Regions from separate parts of the Homo sapiens genome. Here all the other regions are linked to region 2. Evidence: promoter capture Hi-C in 16 types of primary human blood cells and fetal thymus (Javierre and others, 2016). All regions are on one chromosome and are shown on one strand. The core of a region is centred on a gene start or on the middle of the fragment in contact, and the rest is flanking DNA. Distances in the headings are between cores, read along the strand shown. Region 1 has its middle 100 kb from the start of RANBP3L. Region 2 holds the start of SLC1A3-AS1 (SLC1A3 antisense RNA 1). Region 3 has its middle 170 kb from the start of CPLANE1-AS1. Region 4 overlaps RANBP3L (RAN binding protein 3 like). Region 5 overlaps NADK2 (NAD kinase 2, mitochondrial). Region 6 overlaps NIPBL (NIPBL cohesin loading factor). Region 7 overlaps CPLANE1 (ciliogenesis and planar polarity effector complex subunit 1).

Region 1 (3,418 bases), core at 433-2,932, 320 kb after region 2:
GTACCACATATTGAAATAGTCACCTGTTAGCATTATTTTTCTTTTCTTTTCTTTTCTTTTTTTTTTTTTTTCTCCGAGGCAACATTTTGCTCTTGTTGCCCAGGCTGGAGTGCAATGACCCAATCTTGGCTCATTGCAACCTCTGCTTCCTGGGTTCAAGCAATTCTCCTGCCTCAGCCTTCTGAGTAGCTGGGATTACAGGCATGTGTCACCACGCCCAGCTAATTTTTTGTATTTTCAGTAGAGATGGGGTTTCGCCATATTGCCCAGGCTGATCTCGAACTCCTGACCTCAGGTGATCTGCCCGCCTTGGCCTCCCAAAGTGCTGGGGTTACAGGCGTGAGCCACCGTGTCTGGCCAGCATTATTTTTCATTTCGGGTCAGAGTGAAATATGGAAAAGGAAACCAAAAGTAGTATTGGTACTTGGAATTCTGTGGGATTCAGCGATTTCTATGAGCCAGGAGAATTTAAAATGAGACTGATGCTTCAAAATCATGAAGGAAACTGTTTCGATAGTGTCCAGATCAAAAAGGGTGAAAGGAAACAGCCATAACATTGCCAGTGGTTATCTCTATTATGAGTGATTTTGTTTTATGCTTTATATTTTTTGGTAGTCTCCAGATTTCTATATTATTTTTATAATTGGAGAAAACATTACTTTCATTTTGAGTATGATAATAGAAATGAAGTTAAACTTTCCAGAATTTTTCTTCTTTCTTTTATTCTTTTTTCAAAATTTCATGTTTGCATATCCTCAAGGTCATGGAAGGCATGTTTAGATTCATTATTCATTACTTAGGATCCTGGGATTCTAGAGAAAAAGTCCTGAGAGGTCAGACTCACACAGAGGTGATAAATTCCAGTTCACCATTGATTTTTATAGAAGCTGCCTTCCTTCAGCCTCTTCTTCCCCTAAGCAGCATTAATAAGGGAATTCATGTCTTCTTTCAAATTTTAATGTTCAATCCTAGCCTGTCACTGAAGTAGGTTTGTGCAACTAATACAGCTTTCCTTCTAAAATCTTATTTTCTGAAATATCTCAGAAAACATATTTAGAGGAGGTGGTAAGGGATGGGCCGTTGTCAGATGTGCAACTTACTGGAACAACTTGGATGACTTGGTAAAGGCCTTACTTGAAAGTAGTGATGGGGGCCTTCATTTTATCAGAAAGGAAAATGAGACCCAGAGAAGTTACACAACTTGACCAAGGCCATGGAGCTAATTACTAGCAGAACTGGGTCTAGCTCACATTTTCCTACTCTTAGAATATTGTTCTCCCTCCACTACATTGCCTGCACATTAATGGTGTCCACCTGGGAAGGAGGTTTTCATAGGGGTAGGATGACAGGCTAGTCGTCTCATAACAGGGGCCAAGAGCACTAGGGAAGTGGAAGGAGTAGGGATGGAAATCAACAGGATAGGGGGATAGGTGCCAACCTCAGGGCAAGGCGCAAACAATGCAGTCTAATCCTAACCGGGCTGGCAAGCTGAATTTGATGGGTCCATCCGGCTGAGTTGTCCAAGCTGTAGTCCCTCCACTGCACCCAGCTGGCAGGATAAAAACCATTTGAAAAATATCCGGAAATTGCTACACACCAGGGAGCATCTGTGAAAAATACAGACCACAAATGAGCTGGCAGGGGCTCAGGGACTGCCAAGTCACCCAGCCTTGGCGGGTTTGTCTGAAGGGGTTCCGGAGTTGTTTCCCAGATGGGCTACTCGGCTGCTGAAACTGCTTGGGCCTGATGGACATTTTTTGCAGAATGTTTCTCTAATGCAGAAGATATGTTCCTGAAAATCTATGGGTATACCAGAATCTCTGACCTAGAATCATATTTTTCAAATGTAGTCATGAATAAGCCTGTGGTGATGCTCTACAGTTCTTCCTCTAAAGTGAAGAATTTTTCACAAATAATTTGCTCTTTCATAAATCTGTGTTTTTGATGCAAAATCCACCCAGGGTCATCTGAGTGAAGAAATTCCAGAGCACTGAGACATTTTGTGCTTTTTTATGTTGCTGCTGGGGAATGGGAAGGGAGAAGCAGAATTAGGCCCTTTTCCCAATGGGCTGGGATCAGGGGGATTGCCCCACCCTGTTGGGAATTTGCCCAGTTTCTTATTCCAATGGCTGCTTAAGAAATCAGAGCTGGAGATTCCTAACCCCAACACGTTAGCTCATCCTTTTCTAGCCCAGGCTATTCCCAACTTCCTTCGGTGATTTTTCTTGTTGTCTACACCATAATGTCCCCTCCAAACTGCCGATAATGTCCTCAACGAGATATGTAAATATTTTGGTTTGAGATCAGAGTCCATGGTCTTTTATCTTGTTTGGGAATGAGACTGCCTGCTGACATCTATTGATTGGTTGTTATTTTCTCTGATCCTTTCACCTGCTGGGTAGGATCAAGCAGTTCACCAGATAAGGGTGGTCTGAGTTTTAATAAAACAGTTGAAATTAAAAGAATAAAATGTGGCCGGGCACAGTGGCTCACGCCTGTAATCCCCAGCACTTTGGGAGGCCAAGGTGGGTGGATCACCCGAGGTCAGAAGTTCAAGACCAGCCTGGCCAACACGGCGAGACTCTGACTCTACTAAAAATAACAAAAATTAACTGGGCATGTTAGCTGGGCGTGGTGGCGGGTGCCTGTAATCCAAGCTACTCGGGAGGCTGAGGCAGGAGAATCGCTTGAACCAGGGAGGCAGATATTGCAGTGAGCTGAGATCGCGCCATTGCACCCCAACCTGGGCAACAAGAGCGGAACTTTGTCAAACAAAAAAAAATATTTGCTCAAATACACCAGCTGTTTTGTTCGTGAACTTCTACCTTCTTAGTGATCTGTCTGGTGGCTTCTGTTTATTTTAATCAGGTGCAAGACCATAGAGGCTGAGAAGGAAGAGAAGTCAGCAACAGAAATAACCTCACTAACAGCAAGACCCCCAGAGAAGCTAAAAACATTCCAGGCAGGGCTCACAACAGCTCTCAGAGCAGAATTCCCAAGGCATCACTTATGGTTTCTACAAGAGCTTTTGCCTTGCTGTTCCTTCCCCTACATGCGACCTTTCAGCCCCAGTGAGTCCAGAGGCTTTCTGCAGAGAGAACTGAGTCAGACTGTGAAGAAGAGGCTTTGGGCAGCTAAGAGGTATGAGAGAGAAAGAACAAGGGGAGAGACGATTTTAAGTAGTACTTAGTGACAGAAATGGAAGCTCCCTTAATTTCTTTAAAAAACAAAAGTAAAAAATGGAATTTCTTTTTATTACTTTTGGTTCCCGGATGTTTCTGAGTGCATCTAAGTATCACCTGAGCCATATGGGATTTCGGCGTTTATTCAATTTATATAAAAAATATTTTCTTTTAATAAAGGAGGTTGGGAGTGGGGATGAAGGGTTATTTTATTTCAGAAATCCTTCAGAGACACC
Region 2 (3,222 bases), core at 443-2,942:
GCCTCACTCCCTCACCTCCTGCACTCTGCTCAAAAGTCAACTTCGTAGGGAGTCCTGACTTGACCACCCTAATTTAAATTGCACTTCTGATTTCACTTACTTTGCTTTTTCTCTCCATAGTGATCACCTCTTAACATATTACAAAATTTTCTTAATTTTTTAATGTTTATTGCCTATCTCCTGTTTCACGCTCCTTCTTGCATCCCTGAATGTAAACTCTGAGAATAGTGAGGTATTTTTTGTCCTTTTTGTTCAATAACAAACACTCAGTGCCTAGAATAATGCCTTACAGGAGTGCTTTATAAGCATTTGTTGAATGAATGAATGAACTAATGAATGAAGTGTAATACAAGGGGCAAAGGATTTGGCATCCTTTGGTCATGGAGTGCTGCTCAGATATGTACTATAGAAACCATTCTGAAGCATTTCAAAAGACATCCAGTTTCTCCTCTGTATACTGCAAAATCTTGGGCTTAGGTTCTGGCATTTAGTCTATGACAAATGATTGCTGGCAAAAGTTGAATGAAGCAGTTAAGAGTATGGGTTTGCAGTAAGATCCAGGTTCAAATTTACACCTTTCCATGTACTACCTGTGTGACTTTGGTGAAATTATCTTCTCCAGGCCTTAGGGTGAAATGTATGTGAGAATGCATGAAGCCTGCCACGTGGTTAATATTAAGAGTGATAACTCATATTATCATTGATGGAGGTGAATGAAAGAAATGGAGTAACACGCTTTTAAAACACAGTTTCCCCTCCATTATCATTTCAACCACTTTAGATGAAAATATTGAGGGATACATCCACAATTTCTAGTTAATTAAAAAATATCAGGAGGTCTTAGTAGATTCTAGATTTTTCCTTCAATGAAATGAGTTGTTAAATAAAAGGCCTCCATAAGTACAGGGTCTTGTCGTTGGGCTCTATCTTATGAGCGGTGGATCTGCCTCCCAGGAAGGTAGGCAGACACCAGTGAGGCATCTGGTGCTTGGGATGCAGCGAGTGGAGCCAAGCAGAGAATGATCAGATCCGTTTGCCTGGAATTTCTGCATTTGCTGCCCCAAACATCTGGAGCCAGGCTACCCAGTGCAGATGGAAAATAGCAAAATGCAAATTCCCTGGGTTCAGCTGAGGGAAGCCAAGGCAGACAGAGTCTGAGAAGGCGGATGAAAGGTGAGCCAAAACAAAAGCCCTGGCGGGTGGTGGGGCAGCGTTTTATCTAGAGCCTACGGCCCCCGGTAAGGACAGGAGATGAGAGAAGGGACCTTAGAGCTACTTGGGCCACCTTCATGTTCGTACTCATCCCCCTCCTTAACAGCCTGAAAGGGAGCCTGCTGGGCTTACGGCAGCCTCCCTGTCCTCTTCCTGATGCCATGCCTGCTCCATTGCTTTGCTTCTTCTGGATCCTGTTTCGCCCTCTCCCTCAAGAAGGAGATCCTGAAATAGATCCTGAGTCAATGACTCAGGTGCAAGTGCTTTATTAAAGAAAGGCTCCCAGAAGAAATCTACTTGCACCCGAATCATTGACTCAGGATCTCCTTCTGGGAGAATCCAAGCCAAGACAAGACAGACAACCCAACCAACTGAGCTGCTCACAGCTTCAACTGCTACAACCCTGGAAAGGATTCTGATTGGCTAGCTAAGGGTCACATGCCCAAATGGGCCTTTGATTGGCAGCTGTTGCTTCCTTCCTACTCCCTCCCACACACCCAGGAGCTCCAGCCTGTTATGGGATGGGCATCCTACCAGGAACCAAGGATGCTAAGGTAAGCAGTCCTTGCCCTCATAGGTTTACTTATACTTAAGGGGAGAGAACCGTTAGTCAAATCACCCCACATACAGATCTTTACACACTATGAAGGACAAGCACAGGGTGCAGTCAGTGGGAGGGGCCCAGAACGGGAAGTGCCATGCTGGCTGCTGCTGTGTGGAATGGGCTGTAAAGAGAGCAAGAGTGAAAGCCACAGCAGGGGAGCTGGTCAGAGATGGCAGTGGCTTTATTAGAGTGGTGGCCCTGGAGTTGGAGACAGGTGGGAAAAACTCAAGAGCCCTCTAAGGAACCGACCCATGGCAGTCCATCGCCACCAAGTCCCTCTTACCACTCTAGGTTTAAAGAAACCCAAAAAACAAAACTACGTTGCAACTGCACTGCTACACCAGGAAACCTAAGGGGGAACAAAAGAAAACTTAGTAGTGCCCTCTAGGCTGAAGATTTGACCTATTATTTACTAACCTTTCCCTCCCTCTTCCTTATTTTCAACAAATCTCCTGCCATCCATTTTGAATTCTTCTCTAAATAGAGAAAGCTTTCTTTCTCAGCTTCATTTAAATGTCCACCATGGTATTTACCCATGTTTTCTTGATTTTTATTTCTTTTTGGGGCGGGTATCTAAAAGATAATCTGATCCCTGTTCCTGATTCTGTAGGTGACAGAGAGAAGTGGTTTTCTCATTTTTTTGTGTGTGAAATTATTCGCATATGAGGAAAAGATAGCTCAAAAATAGAAGCTCTTTCATTATCTCTCCACAATGTAGTGTGGCCCCAAGTGACTATTTTGTGGAGACACGGTAATTTGGGGTGGCTAAATCATTACCCCGAGGTGTGTCAGATGCTGCCAAGACCTCCTTCATTCATGTGGCCAAGACTGTGGGCTTCCTGGCTGGGGAGGCAGAGGCCCTGCTCTTCTGCTGCTAACCTTGGGGTCAGCGAGCCCTGATCCACACTTCCTCTGGGCAACATCAATGGGGCTGCTGAACATATTGAGCCAGACTTGTTTCCAAGAGATAGAAGGAACTAGAGCATTGGGGAAAGTCCCAAGTAACTCTAGCCCTCAGCCACCTGCTGTGGCTGAAGATGAAGTCTCTGCAGCTTCAAGAATCCAACTGGCTGGTGCACATTGTTCTCATTGGCTAGATCATTCCTCCATGTAGCACTTCACTAAACTCATTAACAAATATTTACAAATGACATTGCTTTTTGGGGTCATGTATATTTCAGTCTTCAGAATCCATCAGGCACTCAAATCCCTTGGCAGTTCTAGTTCTCTCCCCTAGACATGCCTCTGCCCCCTACTACTCAGTTCCTTTTATTTCTACCATTCGTTTTTATTTTCTATTTCATTTCTTTACTTTTTAGAGACAAGGTCTCTGTCACCCAGGTTGGAGTGCAGTGGCATGATCATAGCTCACTGCAGCCTCAAACCCTTGGACTCAAGTGATCCTC
Region 3 (3,172 bases), core at 191-2,690, 350 kb before region 2:
ATTGAGGTGAGTGGATCACTTGAGGTCAGGAGTTTGAGACCAGCCTGGCCAACATGGTGAAACCCTGTCTCTACCAAAAATACAAAAATTAGCCAGGCGTAGTGGCATGTGCCTGTAATCCCAGCTATTCGGGAGGCTAAGGCATGAGAATCACTTGAATCTGGGAGGCGAAGGTTGCGGTGAGCAGAGATTGCACCTGGGTAACAGAGTGAGACCTTGTCTCAAAAAAACAAAAACAAAAGAAAAAAAAAGTTTGACATCAGTTGCTCCCCCCAGCCCAAATTTTCTCTTTTCTTTTCTTTTTTTTTTTTTTGAGACAGGGTCTTGCTCTGTCACCTAGGCTAGAGTGCAGTGGTGTGATCATTGCCCACTGCAGCCTCTACCTCTTGTTCAAGTGATCCTCCTGCCTTGGCCTCCTGAGTAGCTGGGACCACAGGTAAACACCACCATGCCTGGCTAATTTTTGTTTTTTGTTTTTTTTGTAGTGATTGATAGGGGTTTCACTATGTTGCCTCAGCTGGTCTCTAACTCCTTGGCTCAAGCAATCCTCCCATCTCAGCCTCCCAAAGTGCTGGGATTGCAGGTGTGAGCCACCGTGCCCAGCCTGTTTCCATTTCTTAAGTGAGTGCAATACCTGTATTAAAAACCAATTGCATGTGACACTATTCTTTCCCAACACTTGAGGCTTGACAAGTGAGGGGTAAGCAATTTTTCTTTTGGTAGGCTGCCTAAATAGATAAGTAAGTATCTGCCTTGCCAAATACTCGACCCAGCAGATGCATTGCAAGGTCTAGATTCCGGGAAGAAGGCAGCAAGCTTGATTGTGATTGCAGGTCCAGGTTACAATGTGTTCTGTATTCTGGCTCTACTGACAATAAAGCTGTTAATGTTACCTCCATCTATCTGGCTGCAGTTTATAATTTGAATCAGATCTCTAAGGAATATGGCATGTGATTTCTCGGCCTACTTAATCCTGAACACATGCTATGTTGGCTGTGACTTGAGCTCAGGCCCCCAGATGGCAAGTGAGAATTCTACTTTCTTTCTTTCTTTCTTTCTTTTTTGAGATGGAGTCTTGCTCTGTCACCAGGCTGGAGTGCAGTGGTGCAATCTCAGCTCACTGAAACCTCTGCATCCCAGGTTCAAGCAATTCCCCTGCCTCAGCCTCCTGAGTAGCTGGGACTACAGGCGTGCACCACCGCACCCGGCCAATTTTTTGTATTTTAGTAGAGACGGGGTTTCACCATGTTGGCCAGGATGGTCTCGATCTCCTAACCTCATGATCCACCCACCTTGGCCTCCCAAAGTGCTGGGATTACGGGTGTGAGCCACCACACCCAGCTGAAAATTCTACTTTCTAATCTAACAAATAGATGATATGAGAAGGTGGTATATTTATTCATAAAATAAAAGTTGCTATATGAAGGGAGCAATCAGAGAACAAGAAAAAACCTTCAAAATTTAAAATATATAGTTGTAATGAATTATTTAATATTAGAGTTAAAAGATAAGATAATGTAGGAAAACTCCTCTCAAAGAAGACAGAGCCAAAAAGGAAAGGGGGCAGGGAAGAGCAAAAAACATAGCTGAGAAAATTAGTCTAAAAGGAACAGTATCTACAGATTTAAGAGGACAAATAAACTAAAGGGGAGAAAGTTAGTTAGTAAAGAAAATTCTCCAGAGCTAAGGACACAGATTAAATAAGCCTACAACACACCCTGCAAAATGAATTTTATTAATTTTATTAAAACAATAGAGATGGGATCTTGCTTTGTTGTCCAGGCTGGTTTTGAACTCTTGGCTTCAAGCAATCCTCCCACCTCAGCCTCACAAAGGGCTAGGATAACAGGTGTGAGCCATGGTGCCCAGCTGCAAAATGAGTTTTTTAAAAAAGATTCACATTAAGGGACATCGCTATGAAATTTTAGAATACCAGAAATACAAAAAATATCCTAAAGTCTTCTAGAGAGGGGAAACACAGATCGTATACAAAAGAACAAAAATCATAATTGTATCAGTCCACTTAACAGCAACAGCACAGGCTAGGAGACTATGAGAAGCTTTCAAAGGGAAACTTTTCAACTTAGAATTCTAGACCCGGCTATCAATCATGAGACTAAAGACGTTTTCAGACATCCAATAATTCGAAAACTTTGTCCCCATGCACCTATTCTTAGGAAGTTATGGCAGGATATGCTCAAGCAAACCGAGAATTTTAAGCTAAAAGGACAAAAGTATGGATGCCAGAGATGGACTCTGGATCCAGCCAGAAATGGGGAAGGAAAAGTCTGGAACAACTTTGCAGCAGCCCTGGAAAACGAATCCACATTGATACAAAACTAATGGGGAGGAGGGGCTGGGATAGAGGAAGAGGGTGGGGGAAGACTCCAAAGAGCGAATGATATAAAAGAACATTCCAAAGGAATTAAAGTACACAAGAAAACATCATATACAGGAACATGTATTTATAGTACACTAAGTGTTGGCTCTGATTAAACAATATTTACATAGTTGTTTTATATTATATAAATTCTCATTAAATATATCCATATTGGGAGGAGAGGGGAAGGACATGAGAGCCAAGTCCTTACCTATCATAAAAAAGTCAACAGATCATAATATAATTCAATATGTAAGGTCTAGGGTTAACAAATTGTAACAGTATATTCTTTAGAAATATAAATGACCCAAAGAAAGAGCTAAGAATTTAAAGTGGTTGCCTCTACAAAGGACTAGATGGAGAGAGATGGGATAAGGTATTCTTTCTTTAATTAGCAAAATCAAACTATTAAGTAACAAACTTTATTGAGTTAAAACCTTCATTAATTGTCTTGAAATTACTTTGAATTTTATAAATGGCAAAATGTTAAAGATTCAGTTGACTTTTTACAGTTATGCAGGAATCCACCTAGACTACTTTTCTCCTTTCTGGATAATGTAATATATTTAGATTCTTCACTTAAAATGATGGTTGTTCCCTCATGGGCCATTCTCCAGAAGAACGAGGAGTAAGTCATGTTTTCTCCTATGTGGATGCAACCCAGGAAGGCTGGCTTCACTCATCTGATTTTACTAAGGAAGTTCATACTTGTTATCTCCTTATTACAATTTAAATTATAATAACCAAAGATACGTGACTGACTTAACTTTCCAAACAAATGAGGCCACTACC
Region 4 (3,214 bases), core at 148-2,647, 460 kb after region 2:
TAGTTGAAAATTTCAAGATAAATAGATGAGTGGGGTTTTCTCTCACATTGGGTGACTAGGATGGTGACATTCTTAGGGTGTTTCCCAGGATTAAATAGTCCTGAAAAGAGCTTTACTAATCCAGAAATGAGAATTAACCCAATTTGACTAAAATGGCAAAAATAAACAAAACATGGTGGGATTTCTGAATATTATGATATTCCGGTATTAGACAGATCGCCACTGTATGTGACCTGGGCAAATTATTTAAGTTTTTTGTGTCAGTTTACTCACCTGTAAAATGTGGACAATAGAATTACAAAGTGTTAGAGTTGTAAGGAGTAAATGAGATCGTACATAAAATGCTTAAGGCAGTACTTAAACATAGTAAGCTTTCAATATATTTAACTATAACTATTGTTTCCTTGTCTGATGGTCCTATAGTAAGGTAGTCTTTATAAACTTTTTGATGGATTTCTTTACTTTCAGATTTCTGAGGGAAATTCCTATTTGTTAAGTGAAAATTTATCAAGGGCTAGAATTTCAGTCCAGCTGTCTACTAACCAGGACTTTTTAGGTGCAACATCAGTAGGGTAAGTTAATGAGAAAATAGAAGCGTTGTCCTTTCATTCTTGCATTCTTTCATTATTATAACCATTCATGGAAAATAATTTTCTGACCTTGTACGGATAAATTGCCAAGATTCCCATTTGAAAGGAGATTTTATAGGAAACACAAGTTTAAAATGTTTTTAAAAATATTTCGATTCTTAAATATTATCATATTAATACTGGATTGTCTTCATTGTTTCATTAACTTGGGTGAGAACTTTTTGAAAATGTATGGCTAAACTTTTATTTAGTTGGACATAAATTATCTGATTAGTAGATTAGGCTCTCTTCCTCTCTCTCTAGCATTTTTTTCTTTTATTTTGGCATTATACATTATTTATTGGCATAGGTTAGATAAGCAACAAGGAAAGCAGTATAAATCTGCAATATTTATTAGTATTACTAGTGATGGATAAATGTTTGATCTGAGAGGTTAAAACTAGCTGTGGATATAAACTGACTCACATGACTGGGCTCTGTCCAGGTGCGGTAGCAGGTGCCTTCTATGTGCATTGGGGATGCAATGCCGAACCCTGAGCACATCTGTCTACAAAGAGCGGGCTTCCGGTCTTCGAGTTTCTCATCATGAAAAACACTTTTAACATTAAAAAAAAGTTTCTGGGAGGCAAAAAATTTAAGCCAATGCACACTCAATTATAACAGACAGGGTTTCGCTTTTGCCCTGGAGATCTCTGGTTGCTAAAACATCAGCCACTTGAGGAAGAGAAGAGGGGAAATTAGATACTAGACAGGGTGTGTTGGAAAAGCAAAAGGGGTTGGGAAGCCCTCCTGGCTGACCACACAGCCAGTGCAGTGATGGGCATGAGGCAGTCAGGACTGGTCTCTGCCAGTGCTGTAAGAGCTGGAAACTATTTTGACAATCACCTCTGGATGCCACTATCTGAATTTTTCCTTCATTTTTCATTAAATTCACACTAACAAAAGTGAGCAGTAAATTTGATTTACATAAATCTATTAAATTATCTGATTATTTCAAGGTTTAAAATGGCTTTATCTATGTATTTAAAATAGTAAATGCTTATTTCATTTTCTTAGATGTCAACCAAATGAAGATAAATGTTCTTTTAAAAGCTGCAGTTCCAATTTTGTTTTTGGAGAAAACATGGTAGAAAGAGTTTTGGTAAGATTTTGGTATATGTTTCTATTACTATATACAGAGCTGTCACTTTAAATTTCTAAAGGTAAATTAATTAAAAGTAATATTAAATTGAATTATACTTTTTAACTCCTGAGTTCAAACGCACATTTTCTTTCTTTAACTGGAAAGATTCTCCTGGGAAGCATGTCCTAGTTGTTAAAATAATAGAAACCCACAGAGGAAGGGAACTGTATAATTATAACATTATTACTGATGTGAAATATTAAATAGTTCTTTGACTTGTGTTAAACCAAAAGTACCCAAGGAAATCCCAGAATCATCTGCAATAGTTAGATAAGCTCAGTTGGTAATGATAGTTTAATAGTTTGTCGATGTCATCATTTTGTAACAAGATGCATTTAAAATTATTTGCCAGTTTGGTTTTTTTTTTTTTTTTTTTTGAGACAGAGTCTCGCTCTGTCACCCAGGCTGGAGTGCAGTGGTCCGATCTCTGCTCACTGCAACCTCCGCCTCCTGGGTTCAAGTGATTCTCCTGCCTCAGCCTCCTGAGTAGCTGGGACTACAGGCGCGTGCCACCACACCTGGCTAATTTTTTTTTTTTTTGTATTTTTAGTAGAGATGGGGTTTCACTGTCTTAGCCAGGATGGTCTCGATCTCCTGACCTCGTCATCTGCCCACCTCAGCTTCCCAAAGTGCTGGGATTATAAGCTTGAGCCAATTTGTTCTTATCAGTTAACCACAACCCTAACTTCAAGCTCTTACATCAAAAAGCATTATTATAACTTTCTTTTGCTAGCTTTCAGAGAAAATTCATAGTGCTTTACTTGCCTAGGAGAATATACTTGCCTAGTGAAAACCCCTCACGTTATTACCATCATCCTTATTTAATGTTCAGCATCCTCTTGCAATGAGGTAACTGCTTCTCTGATCCCCACAGAACTCTGATCTACAGTGGAAAATTTTACAGAAAAGTGAAAGCTGTGGAAAACCATGCCTATGGTTTTATCTGGTCCATCACATCTTCATACCTTTTCCAGCTTTCACTCAAGTCAGGAAAGTGGCTGAGATAGCTCGAACGTGCCTAGCTTGTCTCAGGGATACCAGTTACATGAAGAATCCCAAAGAAGCTGCAGAGATTTAAAAACCCATGTACGGATTTAGATTAATAAAAGAACCAACTCGTTAAGCCAGTTCATTCCATTTTTTTTTTTTTTTTTTAAGATGAGGTCTTGCTCTTTCACCTAGGCTGGAGTGCAGTGGCACGATCTCGGCTCACTGCAACCTCTGTCTCCCTGGCTCAAGGGATCCTCCCACTTCAGCCTCCCGAGTAGGTGGGACCACAGGCACGTACCACCACACCTGGCTAACTTTTTGTATTTTTGGTAGAGACGGGGTTTCACCATGTTGCCAGGCTGGCCTCAAATTCCTGAGCTCAAGCGATCCACCCGCCTCAGGCTCCCTAAGTGCTGGGATTATAGGCATGAGACACTGCGCCCAAACTCAT
Region 5 (3,365 bases), core at 87-2,586, 500 kb after region 2:
TATGCATTTAACTTCAAATATGATTCAAAGGATCAGTTATTGTATTTTGGTATAATTATGGCAGTTTTAAGAAAAAAATGAAGTTGATAAAGAGTTTAATGAGATGAGGTAAATTCTATTCCTCTTTGGTCCCAATATACTTGTACTTACTTTTTTCTGAACTTTATCATTAAGTTAATGGCTACTGTTTCTAAAGCTTTAAGTTGACAGCAGGTGTTGAAGAGAAAAATTTGAAGTTGGACACATTGGATATGTTTTTATTAAAATAATTTGTGAATTTGGACTGGTGTTATGGGAGAAGGAAAGAAGATTGGCTAATAGAAATTTTTGGATTAGATTAGTGGTTACTAACTGTGGGGTGCTACTAGTATGTAAAGGGACTACCTCTAAAACATTCTACAGTGTCCCCACAACAAAGAATTATTCTGCCTAAATGTAATCTTGCCACTTATGAAATCCTGGATTAGAGTGGGAGAGAGAATCCAAAGGTATAATAGGTAGAAAGGGAGTGGGATAGGCTATAGCGGTTAGCAGGGTGGGGTATGATTGTTAAAACTACTGATTTTCAAAATGGCCAAAAACTAGATTTATAACAGAAATTTGGTTATGTCTTGTATTTTGTCTTATGTTCCTTAGGTGATGGCACAATGCTGCTGGCAGCGAGTAAAGTCTTGGACAGACTTAAACCAGTTATAGGGGTAAACACTGATCCAGAACGGTAAGAAAGAACGTATACATTTTGTTTGATTTGTGTGGTGTGCTTTTTAAGTTTTTTTTTAGGTTATACATACATGCATTTCTGCTTTGATTGCATAGTATCTTTTTATGGTCTGTCTTAAAATTTGGAAGCTATTTTTTATTTTCTTGACCATGTTCACATTCTTGGGCTCTGTTGCTACAGACATTTTACTAGGTGTATGGTGTCTAAGTGGAAGCATCATTGTTCCTGGCCACCATGAACATTAGAACCATGTTCCAGAAGCATTCTAGTAATCAAATTTAGGTATGTAGAACTGAGTAGGATTGTCTTTTATGTAGTTGTTTTCAAGGATATAGCTCTAGTTTTAAGCTCAGGCATGAAAAATATATATACATCTAGCTGGCATTGGTGGTAGGAAATTATGTTATAGGATGGACCAGTTCTCACATTTTAGCTTCCCAGGTAGTTTGGGAGTAGGATCTGTGGCATAATAGACCTGAGTTCTTGACCCAGGTGAGTGTTGGGGACCTTTGGTATTGCTGAGGAGGGACAAGTTAATAATGATCCATTTTCTACCCTTCCTTATGGCTTGTATTTATATTCCTCATTATGCTACCACTGATTTTTTTGGGGGACAGTGACTTTACTGACTTAATAAAAAGACCTATCTTAATAAAAAGACCAATAAAAACACTATTGGCACTTTTTGTTTCCTTCCTTAGCTTCGTGATATTTACCCTCATTCTGTTCTAGCCACCCACAGCCATGACTGTACCTGGACTTTATGGTGATCTGGAATTCCCTATCTCTACAATCCTAATTAATTCCACTCTGACTGTAGCCTTCTACCTTAACAGCAGCCTTATTACTTTATCCCACTAAATCTGCCCTTTGACTTTCAGTATTTTGATCACCTCCATTTTCTCCACTTATTTCTTCCTCACTTCATTCACTTTCTTAAATATTTCTTTCTTGCTTTCTTTCTTTCTTTTTTTTTTTTTTTGAGACAGAGTCTTGCTCTGTTGCCCAGGCTGGAGTGCAGTGGCGCACTCTCAGCACACTGCAACCTCTGCCTCCTGGGTTCAAGCAATTCTTCTGCCTCAGCCTCCTGAGTGGCTGGGACTATAGGCATGCACCACCACACCTGGCTAATTTTTGTACTTTTAGTAGAGATGGGGTCTCACCATGTTGGCCAGGCTGGTCTCAAACTCCTGATCTCAAGTGATCCACCCACCTTGGCCTCCCAAAATGCAAATGTTTCTTCATCATTATCTTTCTGCACAATTCTAGATCAATCTGACCATCATCCTTTCTACTTCTGCATCAGTACTGCTATGGTCATCTGGGGAAAAAAAGATCATTGGGTTTGGTGGCACTTCCAGTTTGTAGTCTTCAGCACTTGGCGGTGGACTTAGAGTTGCACACAAACTTCCTATGTAGCCCTACTCATCTCTCTTCCCCATTCTCTGTGGTGGCTGCTTCAGTAGTTCAACTTTTGCATTCACTTTGCTTCCCTTATCCTTCTTTCTTCAATAAACCCACCTTGTTTTCACAGAGGAATTGAAAGTCACTGGATTAGAACTACTTCACCTTTTCTCTTGCTTAAAAAAATCTTGTCCTGTCTTGTCTTTTTTTTCTCTCCCTTCACACTTGACTCCTTTTAGCCTAAAAAGACTTGTTCAAGACTCCTGTTTTTCAAGAAAATTTTAAAAATCCTTTACCCTGTGTCACTCTCTTGGTTATTATCTCTTTTCCTTCCACTTATCCCCAAGCTTGGTATCGCCACTCCTTCAGTTCTCAGTTATTTTCTAAAACTTTGCAGTTTTTTTATGGATTTGCCCCCAACCAGTTCATTGACGTTGCTTTTGCCTTAGAGATCAGTGATATCCTACTTACCGAATCTACTGGATATTTTAGTCCTTGTCTTACCTGATTTCTGGGAAGTTTTGGTGCTAACTGCTCCCTTATTTCAACTGTACTTTGTTGGCATTTATGATACCTTTTTCTTCCTATCTCTGTGACTACTTCTTTGTCTGTATTTCTTTTGAAGGATCTTACTATTTGGTTACTGGCTAAATACTGGTGTTTTTACATATTGTGCTCTGGGCCATCTTTTTTCTTCTTCAATTCCTATATTGTCTCTAGGGAGGCTGATTAATACTGTGGTATTATTGGAGTCCCCTGGGACTCCAGAATCTTTATTCCAACACTGATCTTCTTGCTTCCATTCTTACCCTTATAGTTTCTTAGTTCTTCTCCCCACTGCAGCCAGCGTGATTATTTTATGGAAGTTTGATAATATTATGTAACTTCTCTGCCTAGATTTTTTTTTTGTCGTGGCTCCCCATCTAACTTAGGGTAAAATCTACCTTTTTACTATGAATAGGGTGACAAACTTCTCCTGGTTTTCTTGGAACTTTCCTGGTTTTAGCACTGAAAGTCCTGTGTCCCAGGAGAATGTCAGTCCCAGGCAAAGCAGGGAACAGTTGGTCACCTTAAATGTGACATACAGGCTGTACATTATCTGGCCCTTTACCAGTTCTGTCCTTATTGCCTATTATTTTTCCCTTCATTCTATTCTAGCCACACTGGCCTCTACTTTGGATATATCCAGTGGTATTAAAATTGTAACATGTACCAATAAACTCTCCTTTCCTCTCTCCCA
Region 6 (3,301 bases), core at 431-2,930, 310 kb before region 2:
AAAAAAAAAAAAGACTGCATAAAAAATATAAAGCATATCAACAACTTCCGTAGGTGCCATAAATGGACGGCTGTTAGAGGCTATTGGCTCCCAATTTTGGAGAACAACTGAGGCTGACGTTGTTCCTCATTAATGTGCATTAGATGGGAAGTAATGCTAGTCTTTGTGCGCTTCAAGCAATGGGTATCTATATCTATCTATGTATCTATATATACATATATATATATATATACATATATATATATATATTTTTTGAGACGGAGTCTCCCTCTGTCACCCAGGCTGGAGTGCAGTGGCGTGATCTTGGCTCACTGCAAGCTCTGCCTCCCGGGCTCATGCCATTCTCCTGCCTCAGCCTCCCAAGTAGCTGGGACTACAGGCGCCCAAAACCATGCCTGGTTAATTTTTTTGTATTTTCAGTAGAGACGGGGTTTCATTGTGTTAGCCAGGATGGTCTCAATCTCCTGACCTCATGATCTGCCCGCCTTGGCCTCCCAAAGTGCTGGGATTACAGGTGTGAGCCACCACGCCTGGCCCAATTTTTATATTTCTTAAGTAATCATTTATTTATAATTGATTAAAAAACTTCAGATTTGTGATTGGTAAATAATGTGAGATAATATAAAATATTAAGTACTTAAATAATTTGTGATTTTAAACATTTTAATAAATTTCTAGCTCAAGATTAAGCAAACTTTATGTAACAATTATAAATAATAAATATTAGGAATGTAATATAAATCTTTAAAAAACATTTTTATAATAGCTAAAACAATTTCATTTTGAGACATAATTTTATATGACTTAGGAGATATCAGTTTTGTGATGAGTATCATTAGCTAGATACATATTAGCCCCTGGATTTTTACTCCTATTCAATATGACATCTAAAATTATAATATGCTATTAAAAGATATGTGAAAGAGGTGAGGCCCATGCTTTTATTACAATGCTCTAGATAATCTTAGTCAATCTTAATATAATCTAGGATGCAACATCAAACAGATACCTATATAACAAAAATGTATTTCATTTAAAAGTGAAGTAATCATTAGACAAGCAGAGCCAGAGGCAAAAATGAGAAATTTACTCAAAATATTTAAAAATATCTTATAAAATCAACTAAAGATCAATATATATATAAAATGTCTTACCAGCTAGAGATTCCTCATATTTAAGAATGTGCTCAACTAGGTTATCAACAAGTTGAGTACAAGCTTTCTTCACAGGTTTATATGAGGAATCCTCTTCGGACTTCAACAACTATATATACATATATATATATATATATATACATATATATATACAAAAAAGAAAAAAAAATCCCGGTATAATTATTCATTAGGCAATAATAATATAAACACATTAAAAGTGTCCATAAGTAACATACTTTTCAATTTGTCATTAACAATTTAATACTCAAAGTGCAAATTAATAAAACAAAAATATATATGTTTAAAAATATCTTATAAACCAGTAATTTACCAATACTTTCAAACAATTTTACTACAAAGTACTTAAATTGCTGTGTAAGACCTAAGGTAATACGTGAAAGATGTAGAAAAGATGACCTTCCCTTTCTCCCTATTCCAATCAAAAACACAGTATCACATAATACTAGTTGAATTATTTTAAATAATTAATAACTGCATCTGAATTGCACCTTAAAAGGCAATTATAAAACATAACGGTAGATTTCTTTTCTGCATTATCCTTTGCAAAATCACAAACAATGCTAGAAAAGTGTTATGAATAATGAGATGAGGATAGAGCTCATTCTAAATATAGCTAAAAAGTAAAACCAATCTAATCTTTCATAATCAAAGGTCAACAGAAAAGTCATAAGGTATATCTGTTTTCCTAAGAAAAGCTAGCTAATCTAATTCTGGGGATATTGAAGGAATCTAAATGTGTATTTGATTTCTGTGAAGAGTTCCACTGCTGTTAAATATAACTTTCTCTGCAATAATGGAAATATTCTATATCTTTGCTGTCCAATATGGTTTCCAAGAGTCACATGCAGTTATTAAGCACTTGCAATGTACCTACTGTGACTGAGAAATTAAAATTAAATAAAATAAAAATTGAAATTAAGTTAACATTTAAAAAAATGCATGTGGCTTACAGTTGGGCACAAGCTTGGGCAGCACAAGCTTAAACTTTCCCCACAAGATGCATAAATGATTAAAACAACTGACAGCAACCAGAGTAACATAACACACACACTGCCCCTTTTCCTCCAATTTGAAGAAATAAATAAAGCAGACAGCTTCAATGTACTAGGTTTCAACTATGAACCGCAAATTCTTCCTGCCCCATTCTCTAATTTCCTTAAAGCAGCTATTAATATCACATTCTAGTTTGGTCTTTTCTGAGACAGGGTCTCATTGTCACTCAGGCTGGAGTGCAGTGGCACAATCAAAGCTCACTGCAGCCTTGCCCTCCCAGGCTCAGCCTCCCACACAGCTGGGACCACAGGCGTGAGCCATCGTGCCCAGCTTATTTTTGTACAGTTTGTAGAGATGGGGTTCTCTATGTTGCCCAAGCTGGTCTCAAACTCTTGGGCTCAAGTGATCCGCCTGCCTTAGCCTCCCATAGTGCTGGGATTATAGGCATGAGCTACCATGCCCGGCCTAGCTTGGTCTTTTATTTAACGGCAGGAGTAGAAAACTATCCTCTCTCATCCTTGGTTTTTCCTTTTTCATTTCCAAGGCTTCAGGTACACACAAAAGAATTAATCATAAATTTTGACTCATGACACACTGTTGCCACTCGTATATGCCCTTCTAATTTACTAATAAATAATGGCATACTTTGAATCCAAATCAAGAACACGAATAATTTTAATATCTTGTAGCTCCCAATGTGCTCCTTCCCTTATCCCATTTTCCTGTTTCACACTTGAGATAACCACTATCAGAAATTTACCATCTCCTTGTTTTTAAAAAAAGTATAAGCTGTATGCTATTTATATTTTTCTTTGATTTTCCACTTTCTAAAAAGGTAGTATACTTGATGTAGTCTTCTGAGATTTGCTTTTTTCACTCATCATTATGCCACTATGATCTAGGTTACTGCATACAGCTGTATTTTACTGATTTTCTCTGCTGTACAACACCCCACTGTGTGCCTATACCTTAATTCATTTATCCACTCTTTTGTAGATAGGTTAATCCCAATTTTAGTACAATAAGCACTCTTGTATATGCCTCCTGATGCAAATATGCAAGATTCTTTTGTGTGTATATATATTTGAAGTCGAATTGCTGGGTCATTGGATACATGCATTGTTCAACTTCAC
Region 7 (3,255 bases), core at 756-3,255, 390 kb before region 2:
TAAGAAAATACTGCTCTTTTAAAACTGAAATTTCAAAATAGTGAAACATGCTTATATAAAAAAACTTATTTTGTACCTGATATATTTGCCAGAATTAAATACATATCTAAAATTGTCAAGGTTTTAAAAACCTGAGCCATGGTTTCTTAACATCTGATGAAAAAGTCTTGAATTATATGGAAATATGTCCTCCTGTTATATGTGTTCAATTTCAAGTCTTTATTTTTACCTTGTGCTTTGACGGTTGCTATGGCCTTAGCCCGTCTTTCCGTTAATCTCACCTGCCCTTGCTGGATTATGCTTGAGGAGGTGCTCCTGCTACTCCTGGGCTCAGAAGCCCTCAGCAACACTTATACCCACACAGAAACGTCTAGACCCTCTGCTTGGCCTTCAAGGCATCATCTGTGTGTTTTCCTGCTTCCTTGACCTCCTTTCCCCATAGAACCTGTGCTGCTCAGCAGCTTGTTTTCCAACCACATGCCATGATTTGTGCTCCTTTATACCTTGAATGTCTCACTTCTGTGTGTCTGAAGACATTCCTAATTGTAATTCTTTAGTTCATCCACGCTGATATAATCAATTTAATATTCTACATTCTCATTTCTAAATTGAGGCTAATATTTAATCTGCATGGTTGCTATGAAAATTAGAGATAATGGTGGCTAAAGCAGTTATTTTTCTGTCCTTTGAACCCTTAACCACATGTTTATGTCCCTCTTGAAGCACTACAACAGGTGTCCTGTTGTTGTTACCTGTAAACTTCATGCCCCATACTAGATTAAATGCTTTGCAGCAGTATTCCCTTGCTCATCTTCCTATTACCCCTCATGTTGAACAGATGAAATACTCGAACATTGAACAAATGGATAAATGGAAAAAATGGTTATTGAGCTTTTTGCCTAAGCATAGCTATTTATAAACAAATTATTGTTCAAGGATATTAATAGGCGGGTATTATAGTATTTATACCATGTCAGAGAATAATACCATATGCCTGGCTATTGTCCTGTCTTTTAAGGCAAAGATAAAAGAGGCAGCTTGAGTGCTTGTGGATATTCTAACTTCTCTGCCTCAGTAGAACAGGCTGTGGCTCCCCTTGTTCTTGTGGCCTCTGTCACACCCAGACCCAACCATTTCACCTGGCTACATTCAGAAGTTTCAGGTCCCCCAGTGTTTGGGAGAATGGAGGGAAATCCAGGCAAGACTGATTCCAGACCTTTTCCTAGTCAGTGATACAGATAACCTGAACTCACATAGGTCAAGTTCAGTCATTGCACATGTGGGGAGGTGAGGCTCCATCAAGATTTTCAAATTCACTGTAGTTCATTCGTAAATGAAGAGTTTTTCTGAATATGCTTGGGAGTTTGACTCTATGTTGCTTTCTATCTTGTAAAGCAGTATGTAGTTTTTGGCTAATTTCTTCAGCCCTGCTTCCATACTGTTAGGAAATTTTTTTTTTTTGGACACAGGAACTCATTCTGTCGCCCAGAAGGGAGTGCAGTGGCGTGATCATGGCTCACTGCAACCTTGACCTCCCTGGCTCAGATCATCTTCCCACTTCAGCCTTTTTTTTTTTTTTTTTTTTTTTTTTTTTTGAGGCAGAGTCTTGCTCTGTCACCCAGACTGGAGTGCAGTGGCGTGATCTCACCTCACTTCAACCTCTGTCCTTTAGGTTCAAGCAATTCTCCTGCCTCAGCCTTCGGAGTAACGGGGACTACAGGCTTGCACCACCGTGCCCAACTAATTTTTGTATTTTTTAGTAGAGACAGGGTTTCACCATGTTGGCCAGGCTGGTCACAAACTCTTGGCCTCAAGTGATCCGCCAGCTTTGGCCTCCCAGAGTGATGGGATTACAGGTGTGAGCCACCGTGCCTGGTAGTGTGAGACATCTCAGCCTCTTGAATAGCTGGGACTACAGGTGTGCACCACCACACCTGGGTAATTTTTAAATTTTTTCGTAGAGACGGAGTCTTGCCATGTTGCTCAGGCTGTTCTCAAACTCCTGGGCTCAAGCAATCTTCCCATGTTGGCCTCCCAAAGTGCAAGAATTACAGGCGTAAGCCACCATGCCTGGCCAGGAGTAGTTTGTGTTATTGTTGCTTGTTTTATGTTTAGTTCTGTCAACTACAATACAAAGATTATATGATTAGTAACTGAGAGGCATCTTAGGCATAAAAAAGTAAAAGTCGGCCGGGCATGGTGGCTCACGCCTGTAATCCCAGCACTTTGGGAGGCTGAGGTGGGCGGATCATGTCAGATGATCAAGACCATCCTGGCCAACATGGTGAAACCCCGTCTCTACTAAAAATAAAAAAAAGTAGCCAGGCATGGTGGTGTGTGCCTGTAGTCCCAGCTGCTCGGGAAGCTGAGGCAGGGGAATCATTTGACCCTGGGAGGTGGAGGTTGCAGTGAGTGGAGATCACGCCACTGTACTGCAGCCTGGTGACAGAGTGAGACTCCATCTCAAAAAAAAAAAAAAAAAAGAAATAAAAGTCTAAGTTTTAAATCCTCTAAACTTAGGTTTATATCCCAGCTCTGCTGCTGATTTTTGCCCTCAGATAAGTTATTTGAAACCTACCTCATAGAGTTGTTGAGGATTATATTAATAAGAGATATTGCATAACATGGAAGTAAATGGTTGTTATTAATCTTTGAGTTTAAGAAACTAATCATTCGGTTGATAAAATTTAACTTGGCATTTTGTCTAGGTGTTTACTGCTAAGAGGCTTATTATGTCCCTAGCTTTTCCAGTTGCCAGAGATGTCAAAACACATTTGCCATTTGAAAAAAGAGTATGGCTGTGCTTGAAGGATACCAGGTGTCAAAGCAAAGTATTCCCTTTCTTTGTCTGCACTTAAGTTTTGCCACCTTGGTTCAAACCAGCCACCATTTACTGGGCCCCTACTGTGAACAGGGCTTGGTGAGCAGATTCAAAGCTGATCACCAAGGTGTCTGTCCTCAAATAACTCACAATATATATAAAAATCATGGATGTCTATGGAAGGCTAATAATGTTTGTCTCTCTGTATAGGAACTGCCACTTTCACCATACAGAAAAAAGCTGGTGGAGCCAAAGCAGCAGTAAGAAAGGCTACGCAGTCTCCAGTTACCTTCCAAAAAGGTAAGGGATAAAGAAGATAAAGTTTTTAGACTTAATACTGAATTTTCTTTTTTTTTTTTTTGAGACAGAGTCTCACTCTGTTGCCCAGTCTGGAGTGCAGTGGTGCAATGTCGGCTCACTGTAACCTCCACTCC

What was found. The method cuts DNA at HindIII sites, captures the fragments that hold promoters and counts their contacts. A CHiCAGO score of 5 or more calls a contact.
Region 1: a fragment that was not itself captured here is called in contact with the fragment with the promoter of SLC1A3-AS1 in region 2 in 4 of 17 cell types (M1 macrophages, monocytes, M0 macrophages and 1 more); the score reaches 9.2 in M1 macrophages.
Region 3: a fragment that was not itself captured here is called in contact with the fragment with the promoter of SLC1A3-AS1 in region 2 in 2 of 17 cell types (erythroblasts and monocytes); the score reaches 5.5 in erythroblasts.
Region 4: a contact is called between a fragment that was not itself captured here and the fragment with the promoter of SLC1A3-AS1 in region 2, in 1 of 17 cell types (monocytes). The highest score is 6.8, in monocytes.
Region 5: a fragment that was not itself captured here is called in contact with the fragment with the promoter of SLC1A3-AS1 in region 2 in 2 of 17 cell types (neutrophils and naive B cells); the score reaches 5.6 in neutrophils.
Region 6: a fragment that was not itself captured here is called in contact with the fragment with the promoter of SLC1A3-AS1 in region 2 in 1 of 17 cell types (naive B cells); the score reaches 5.6 in naive B cells.
Region 7: a contact is called between a fragment that was not itself captured here and the fragment with the promoter of SLC1A3-AS1 in region 2, in 1 of 17 cell types (naive CD4 T cells). The highest score is 5.7, in naive CD4 T cells.

Annotation. Positions count from the first base shown.
Region 1 is chr5:36,402,377-36,405,794 of GRCh38, reverse strand. No RefSeq gene overlaps it. Among named protein-coding and RNA genes, the nearest start is that of RANBP3L, 100 kb to the right of the region's middle. The HindIII fragment of the contact is 4,575 bases long and covers 1-3,418 here.
Region 2 is chr5:36,723,658-36,726,879 of GRCh38, reverse strand. It overlaps SLC1A3-AS1 (SLC1A3 antisense RNA 1), which reads left to right and starts at 1,692. Exons shown (of 2, transcript XR_007058736.1): 1 at 1,692-1,766. RefSeq lists enhancers at 2,695-2,964, 3,005-3,054, 3,065-3,114. The HindIII fragment of the contact is 5,384 bases long and covers 1-2,308 here.
Region 3 is chr5:37,073,395-37,076,566 of GRCh38, reverse strand. It overlaps a transcript of CPLANE1 not described here. Among named protein-coding and RNA genes, the nearest start is that of CPLANE1-AS1, 170 kb to the left of the region's middle. The HindIII fragment of the contact is 1,244 bases long and covers 819-2,062 here.
Region 4 is chr5:36,259,297-36,262,510 of GRCh38, reverse strand. RANBP3L (RAN binding protein 3 like) reads left to right here. Exons shown (of 14, transcript NM_145000.5): 7 at 469-572; 8 at 1,647-1,731. The region is part of intron 1 of LOC124900962 (a long non-coding RNA gene); the gene reads right to left. Among named protein-coding and RNA genes, the nearest start is that of NADK2, 19 kb to the right of the region's middle. The HindIII fragment of the contact is 2,047 bases long and covers 374-2,420 here.
Region 5 is chr5:36,222,895-36,226,259 of GRCh38, reverse strand. It overlaps NADK2 (NAD kinase 2, mitochondrial), which reads left to right. Exons shown (of 12, transcript NM_001085411.3): 4 at 637-718. Among named protein-coding and RNA genes, the nearest start is that of NADK2-AS1, 3.5 kb to the right of the region's middle. The HindIII fragment of the contact is 2,276 bases long and covers 199-2,474 here.
Region 6 is chr5:37,034,341-37,037,641 of GRCh38, reverse strand. It overlaps NIPBL (NIPBL cohesin loading factor), which reads right to left. Exons shown (of 47, transcript NM_133433.4): 33 at 1,155-1,263. Among named protein-coding and RNA genes, the nearest start is that of NIPBL, 160 kb to the right of the region's middle. The HindIII fragment of the contact is 921 bases long and covers 1,220-2,140 here.
Region 7 is chr5:37,114,826-37,118,080 of GRCh38, reverse strand. CPLANE1 (ciliogenesis and planar polarity effector complex subunit 1) reads left to right here. Exons shown (of 53, transcript NM_001384732.1): 51 at 3,032-3,121. Among named protein-coding and RNA genes, the nearest start is that of CPLANE1-AS1, 130 kb to the left of the region's middle. The HindIII fragment of the contact is 5,052 bases long and covers 1-3,255 here.